Regions from separate parts of the Homo sapiens genome. Here region 1 is linked to region 2. The links are contacts of gene promoters, found by promoter capture Hi-C in human tissues and cell types (Jung and others, 2019). All regions are on one chromosome and are shown on one strand. Each heading gives the region's core, a stretch centred on a gene start or on the middle of the fragment in contact. The rest is flanking DNA. Distances are from core to core; before and after follow the strand shown.

Evidence for each region. Contacts are between HindIII fragments. The study calls those that stand out against the background at their distance.
Region 1: a contact is called between a fragment that was not itself captured here and the fragment with the promoter of MSH4 in region 2, in 1 of the 25 tissues and cell types used here (hippocampus).

The regions. Positions count from the first base shown.
Region 1 is chr1:77,399,218-77,403,112 of GRCh38, forward strand. The region is part of intron 6 of AK5 (adenylate kinase 5); the gene reads left to right. Among named protein-coding and RNA genes, the nearest start is that of AK5, 120 kb to the left of the region's middle. The HindIII fragment of the contact is 6,080 bases long and covers 1-3,895 here.
Region 2 is chr1:75,795,060-75,798,943 of GRCh38, forward strand. MSH4 (mutS homolog 4) reads left to right here and starts at 1,823. Exons shown (of 20, transcript NM_002440.4): 1 at 1,823-2,170. The coding sequence starts at 1,927. It overlaps RABGGTB (Rab geranylgeranyltransferase subunit beta), which reads left to right. Exons shown (of 9, transcript NM_004582.4): 9 at 1-27. The HindIII fragment of the contact is 10,447 bases long and covers 1-3,884 here.

The DNA of each region.
Region 1 (3,895 bases), core at 573-3,072, 1.6 Mb after region 2:
TAAGGATGTTTGCTCTGGGGCTGTACCTGAATCTATAAAATTTAGACAATCGGCCACTGCAGCCACCCTCCCTTCAGCTAAAGAATTGTTCCGAACCCCGATTACCACCACTGACTTGGATTCTTTTCTCTTGGGCCCTTTTCTCTCAACCACAACCTCCTGCATGGCCTGAAACCGAGCCTCTCCCTTCTTATTGTTAGTGGTCTGGCTTTGAATCGACTGTCTCCTAATTAGACAGCCAGATCAAGGGGCTCTGGGAAAGGAGTCTGGAATGCTTTCTCTCAGTCAAAGGGGATAGGGGGCCAAAGCCCTGGTTGGGCTGTGAGGGAGGGGCAGCTAAGCTGGGCCCATGTGTGTGGGTGCTGGTGGCTGGAACTCTGGGACAGAACCAGAGCAGCTTCTTTAGGAAGTGCCAGACCAGACATGGCCCATATCAGAAATCCATTCTCCCATCTCAGAGAGGCTCTTGGAAGGAGGCTAGGCCCACTCTTCCTTTGATTCCTGAGGGAGACCGAATAGTGATGAGAGGAGAAAAACAGAATCCATGCTAGATGACCTCAATCCTCTCAGCAAACTAAAAGGCAGGGTTATTTGCAAAGAGGTTTAGAAGGCTGCTGTGGGGTGCAACTAGAGTCAACAATAGACAAAGAGGATTGCTGGGCAGTAGCCAGTTTCCCTGTAGCTTTAAGCTACCAACCCACACAGACCCATAGGAGTTGGGAAGTCATCTGCCTCTTGCAGTCAACTTTGCCTGCCCTTGCTCCTTCTGATTTCCTGGCCAGTCTGCAGGAAGGTTCTTCTGCCAACAACCACAGCCACCCAGCAAGGTACATGCATCATGCAGAGAAACAGAATCACCTACTAAGGTCCCCAAATGGGGAAGAAGATAAAGAATATTTCAGTATATTGCATCTGGACCTGGCTTGGCACAGTTTCTGAGGATTCTTGGGGGTCCATCCTAAGACTACTTCCAAAAGCCCTGCTTTGTTCTGCAAGTGCCCAGCTAAGATCTGATCCTGCCAGCCTTGGCATCTGCATCTGTCTGATGCAGACAGATGTGGATTTGGATCCTGGCTCTGCAATGTAGTTACACAACCTGGACAAGTTATTTAATCTCTTTGAGGCTCAGTTTTTGAATCTTTAAAATGGAGATAATGTTTTATAATGTTATTGTAGGAATCGAATAAATCCATATAAAATCCAAGTGATAAATTAAAATTGATAAAAAATGTATAAAGAAAACCTCTAATGCAGTGTGTGGCACATAGTAGTTGTTCAGTAAATGGCGTTACCTGGTGCTCCTGTTGTTGAGTGCTGATGAAGATTCCAAAAAATATTCTCTGAGCTAATGTCGTAGGAATAATCAAAGTTATCTTAAGTTAACCTTCTCTGCTAGGTTTCTATAGCAGAATAAATCAAAGTCACTATTACAGTGTTAAGCTTCATGTTCAAGGAGAAGTTTTTCATAAAACAGTTCATAAATATCACAACAATTTTCTCTAGTATCTCTTTATTGTGTTGACTTTTTCCCCACAAAGTTCTCTGGGTGCTGCCTATATCCAGTGAAATAAAGATTCTGTACAGAAGGCTTAGAAAATAAGTGTTTTACTCAGATATACACAGCCTTCAAGTGTTCTGTACTCATCCCTTTGCATACCAATCATGTCTGTTTTTAGATCTGTCTTCTTTCATGATTTGTCCTTCTTTCATTCTGTTAAAAAAAAAAAAAAAAAAAAAAGTATGTTCCGCCAAGCTTGGTTCAGCAGGGCTGTACCACAGGAATTCTCATCAAAACATGGGACTGACTCTACTTTCTCAGAGAATTGTTCCCACCCATCTCACTCACCACGTCCACTTAGGTGTTTCTCTTTCAAATTTTGTAGTTAATTATGAGGCTTTAGAAATATGGTTCTGCAAAGTAGTCTCAATGGTTGTTACTCCATTGCTGATAACTTCACTCCAGGAGCCATGAGTTTTTAAAGTTTATTACTCTTTTAGTGCAATCTTCAATTTTTAGTTGAAGAAAAACAAAGTCACTGCAAAGAGAACACCAATCAATCAATCTTTTGGAGGGACATCTCCAAACATATAAAAGAAATTTTGAAGGGCCAGTTATTTGCATGTTGAAGGAGCTTCAGTAACAAACAAGAAATGCCATTGGTGGAGAGCCTGCTTAATTGAAATCTCTTGCATGAATCAAGGGAGAAGTAAAAATTTCAAGAAGCTCATTTGGTTCTTAGAGAATGACACTTATGGGATATATAACACTGAAACAAAACAGCCAATTGATTTCCCCATCAAGAAGGAGAGGAAAAAAATGGGAGACAGACCTAAGTTTAATCAAAAGCAGAATCGCAGAGGAAAGATTGAACTGGTACCATCCCTTTTCAGTCCATTTAGGGTGTCTCATAGACATAACATTGCTCATTATGTGGCAAGCCCTATCTCTATTGCAGTTTGAAAATCAGAGCCAAAAGAAAATAAAAACAAAAACTCATTTCCGCCATTAAAAATGCAAACCATGATTATAGTTTTCTCCTCAGATGGTGCATAATTCTCCTCCCTCTGCTATAATTCCCTTTCCTAATCTAGATATATTTTGTAGACTTTTGAAAGTTGTTACTGCATTTGTTATTCAAATTAAAACATGTGTTGTGAATGAACTAGGGAATTTGGTGAGCATTTCATTTTGAAATTTCCAATTGACCTCTCTAGCCCTCTTATATTAAATGACATAAAACAGATTATGCAGACCACATCCTCTGCAAATTCTGTCCTTAGGAATAAGAAAAGGATTTTCTTAAGATTCCTAGACATTAAATAACAATTACCTAAAACATAGCATCCATCTAATCACAGAATTTCAGAGCTGTGAGCAACTTTAGACATCATCTGGTCTATTGTCCTGCAATTATATCTCCCTGGATCCTTTTCTGACCCATGAAATGTAAATAAATTTTTATTCCTAGAAACTCATCACTCTACCTATGCTACCGCTGCAGCACTATCACTCCTGCTACCCTTTGTATTTTGAAGTTAACATCCAAGGTTCTTGTAGCTGAAAACTTTTTCATTATTATTATTATTATTATTGTACTTTAAGTTTTAGGGTACATGTGCACAACGTGCAGGTTTGTTACATATGTATACATGTGCCATGCTGGTGCGCTGCACCCATTAACTCATCATTTAGCATTAGGTATATCTCCTAATGCTATCCCTCCCCCCTCCCCCCACCCCACAACAGTCCCCGGTGTGTGATGTTCCCCTTCCTGTGTCCATGTGTTCTCATTGTTCAATTCCCACCTATGAGTGAGAACATGCGGTGTTTGGTTTTCTGTCCTTGCGATAGTTTGCTGAGAATGATGATTTCCAGCTTCATCCATGTCCCTACAAAGGACACGAACTCATCATTTTTTATGGCTGCATAGTATTCCATGGTGTATATGTGCCACATTTTCTTAATCCAGTCTATCATTGTTGGACATTTGGGTTGGTTCCAAGTCTTTGCTATTGTGAATAGTGCCGCAATAAACATACGTGTGCATGTGTCTTTATAGCAGCATGATTTATAGTCCTTTGTGTATATACCCAGTAATGGGATGGCTGGGTCAAATGGTATTTCTAGTTCTAGATCCCTGAGGAATCGCCACACTGTCTTCCACAATGGTTGAGCTAGTTTACAGTCCCACCAACACTGTAAAAGTGTTCCTATTTCTCCACATCCTCTCCAGCACCTGTTGTTTCCTGACTTTTTAATGATTGCCATTCTAACTGGTGTGAGATGGTATCTCATTGTGGTTTTGATTTTCATTTCTCTGATGGCCAGTGATGATGAGCATTTTTTCATGTGTTTTTTGGCTGCATAAATGTCTTCTTCTGAGAAGTGTCTGTT
Region 2 (3,884 bases), core at 573-3,072:
TAAATGGCTGTTGAAATTTGGAAATGATTGATAGGTTTGAATATGGTTATTCTGAATTGGTCACAGACTTAGGTTAAATGGCAATCTACCATCTTAAAATGGGGTTGTGATTCGGACTGTCCTTTTTTTTTTTTTTTTTTTTTTTTTTTTTAGCATTTTATATATCAGAATTACCCAAAGAAGGAGTTGTCTTCAAATAAGGAAACACTAACGGGTAAGTTGATGGTCACCACAGTATTTTTTTGCACCTGTCTTTTTCTTAAAAAGCTAAAATGGGTACAATCACTCTTTTTTATTTTTTTGTGACAGAATCTCTGTTGCCCAGGCTGGAGCGCAGCAGCACGATCTCAGCTTAACTGCAACCTCCGTCTGCCGGGTTTAAGCAATTCAGCCGCAGCCTCTCGAGTAGCTGGGACTACAGCCGCACACCACCATGCCCGGCTAATTTTTATGTTACTTTAGTACAGACAGGGTTTCACCATGCTGAGGAGCTGGAGACCAGCCTGACCTTGTGATCCACCCACCTCGGCCTCCCAAAGTGCTGGGATTACAGGCGTGAGCCACCACGCCTGGCCTAAAATGAGTACAATCACTCTAGGGGTTTACAGTTTTGGTGAAAGTGAGGTATTCTCTATTTTTAAATTTTATTTTTTAGAGACAGGGTCTTCCTTTCTTCCCCAGGCTGGGGCATAGTAGTGCAATCACAGCTCACTGTAACCTTAAACTCCTGGGCTCAAGCAGTCCTTCCACCTCAGCCTCCTGAGTACCAGGGTCTACAGGTACCTGCCACCATGCCCACTATGCCCAGCTGATTTCTTAATTTTGGGGACAGGCACTGTCTTCCCCAGGCTGGTCTCCGGAGGTGAAGTAATCCTCTGGCCTCAGTCTCCCAAAGTACTGGGATTACAGGGAGGAGCCATCGTGCCCGATCTGAAAATAAGGTTTTTTGATGGAAATTGAGATTTTTCTCAAGTATGTTTGGAATGCCCTGTGCAATAATCATTCCAAGAACAGAGATGTTCTTAAGGACTGTTGTCACTGCATGTGGGTAAACCGCTGTGCATAACTGGTTTATTGAGATACTCAACAGTGGCAGGATTTCAGTAGTGGTGTAAATTAATGTCTTCTAATAGCTTCTGTATGGCAGTATCCAGATAATTTCGTCATGTTTAATCCATGGATCTCTGGTAAGTTGGTACTATTGGCCTTATTTAAGGAATTTTCTAAAGGTCACCACTGCAAAGCTGGAGTTTGAACTTCTAGTGTGCCATTAACTGATTTATATGTTAGAAACCACAGTACTAGAAATTGGTAGATGGGGAATTGTTAACTGAGAGATCTTACCCAGTCAGTCTTTCCCTGTTTCCTACTCTACTATGCACACAGCCATGTGCATACTATCTTTTGATAATATAACTATCTTTCCTATATTTGGTCACAAGATCAACCTTAGGTGGGTTATGCTGTGTGAGCATTACACGTTCTCATTGTGTCAAAGGCACTGGGTGTACTGTGTTGGGTGGTTTCTACATTTAAAGATAAGCTAGTGTGCTTGGACGTGTGGGAAATGCATGTAACATTTGCAATAAGGGAGATTGGGTGCTGTGAGAATAATGGGGCTAACAAATCGGGTGGTCATTGATGGGCCTTGCAGAGTTCTGGTCAGTCTGATACCTGCAGGCTGAGGATGTTCCAGTGAGGTTCATGTGGAAAGTGATGGGTTTGGGAATGGCTGGAAGCAGGGTCATAGACCTGAAGTACGTGAATCCATGTGGAAAGCTGAGCCTGCCTGCGCCTGCGCAGTGCAGCTTAGTGCGTCGGCGCGCAGTTCTCCCGCCCGTTTCAGCGGCGCAGCTTCTGTAGTTGGGCTACTGGAGGGGTCGCTCAGAAACCTCATACTTCTCGGGTCAGGGAAGGTTTGGGAGGATGCTGAGGCCTGAGATCTCATCAACCTCGCCTTCTGCCCCGGCGGTTTCCCCGTCGTCGGGAGAAACCCGCTCACCTCAGGGTCCCCGCTACAATTTCGGACTCCAGGAGACTCCACAGAGCCGCCCTTCGGTCCAGGTGGTCTCTGCATCCACCTGTCCTGGCACGTCAGGAGCTGCGGGCGACCGGAGCAGCAGCAGCAGCAGCCTTCCCTGCCCCGCGCCAAACTCCCGGCCAGCTCAAGGCAAGGAGTGATTGGGTGGAGGAGTCTCCTTGAGGCTAGAGGCCGGCAGTTCATGGAGGCTCGGGGGCACGTGGGTGGTGGTTACCACAGTGAAGTTGTGATTTGGTTGGGGCGTGAGATCTGAGTGCCCTGGGAATTTGGTGAGTCTGGGTGATTAGAAGCCTTGACTTTTCAAATTGGTTCTATTGCAAGACCTTGACTGTGGATGGCTCAGTTCTGAGAAAGGCTGAAGTATCCCATATAACGTCCCTCACAGTGTCTGACAAATGACAGTTTGTGCGTGAGTTTGCTGATAGAAGTTGTGAGCTGATCTTTGGCTGCTGAATTTAATTCTCCAAATCCTGCTAAGGTGGGATAAAATAGATTAAATTGAACATTTCATCTAATTCAGGGAAAATAATATGTTTAGTATTAAAAGAGTGGGCTGGGCGGTGGCTGACGCCTGTAATCCCAGCACTTTGGGAAACCAGGGTGGGCGGATCACTTGAGGCCGGGAGTTCCACACCAGCCTGGCCAACATGGTGAACCTCCCACCCCCATCCCCTATCTCTACTAAAAGTACAAAAATTATCTGGGTGTGGTGGCACGTGACTGTGGTCCCAGCTACTCAGGAGGTTGAGGTGGGAGGATGGCGAGTCCGGGAGGTCGAGGCTGCCGTGAGCTGAGATTGCGCCACTGCATTTCAGCCTGGGTGACACAGTGAGACCCTGACTCAAAACAAACAAACAAAAAAGATGCATGTCCTTCAAATCATTTATTATTTTGTTAGTCTCTATTCATGACAAAGCATCACCATTTTTCACACACGATTGCAACACAATGGTAAAGTAACAAATACCAAATCCAATGGTCATTTTTCAGTTCATCTCATGTGACCTTTCTGCTGTATTTAATGTTCTTAATTTCTTTATTTTTAGAAACAGAGTCTCGCTATGCTGCCCATGCTGGTCTCAAACTCCTGGTCTCAAGTGCTCCTGCCTCGGTCTGCCCAAGCATTGGGATTACAGGCATGAGCCACTGCTGCCTGGCCTATGTTTAATGTTCTTGACTGGTCTTCTCTTAAACTCTTTTAATTTGGCTTCCTTGATTCCACTTGCCCCTGTTTTTCTGCTACCTCCCAGAGAATTGCTGTGCCCACCTTTGTTCCCAAATTATGGGCATGTCATTAAAGCTTTTTTTCCTAGGCCACTTCTACCTAGATGTGACTATCTCCACAGCTCAGATCTCATCTACACTCCAGACTTACTTCAGACTGTCTTCTGAAGTTTTTATTGATGGACTAATGGATACCTCAGGCTGACTATATGATTAATTAAATTCCTCTCTGCACTTTTTTTTTTTTTTTGAGACAGAGTCTTGCTCTGTTGCCCAGGCTGGAGTGCAGTGGCATGGTCATGACTCACTGCAGCCTCAAATTCCTGGGCTCAAGCGATCCTCCCACCTCAGCCTCCCGAGTAGCTGGGACCAAGGCATGTGCCCCTACAGATGGCTAATTTAAAAAATTTTTTTGTAGAGACAGTGTTTTCCTACGTTGCCCAGCCTGGTCTCGAACTTCTAGGCTCAAGCGATCCTCCTACCTCAGCCTCCCAAAATGCTGGGATTACAGGTGTGAGCCACTGCACCTAGCCCTCAAACTCTTAAGTGTTCTTCCATCCTTGTAGCTTACTTACTGTACCACCAGAGTTATGTGGAAAATGATCTTATCATGTCCCTT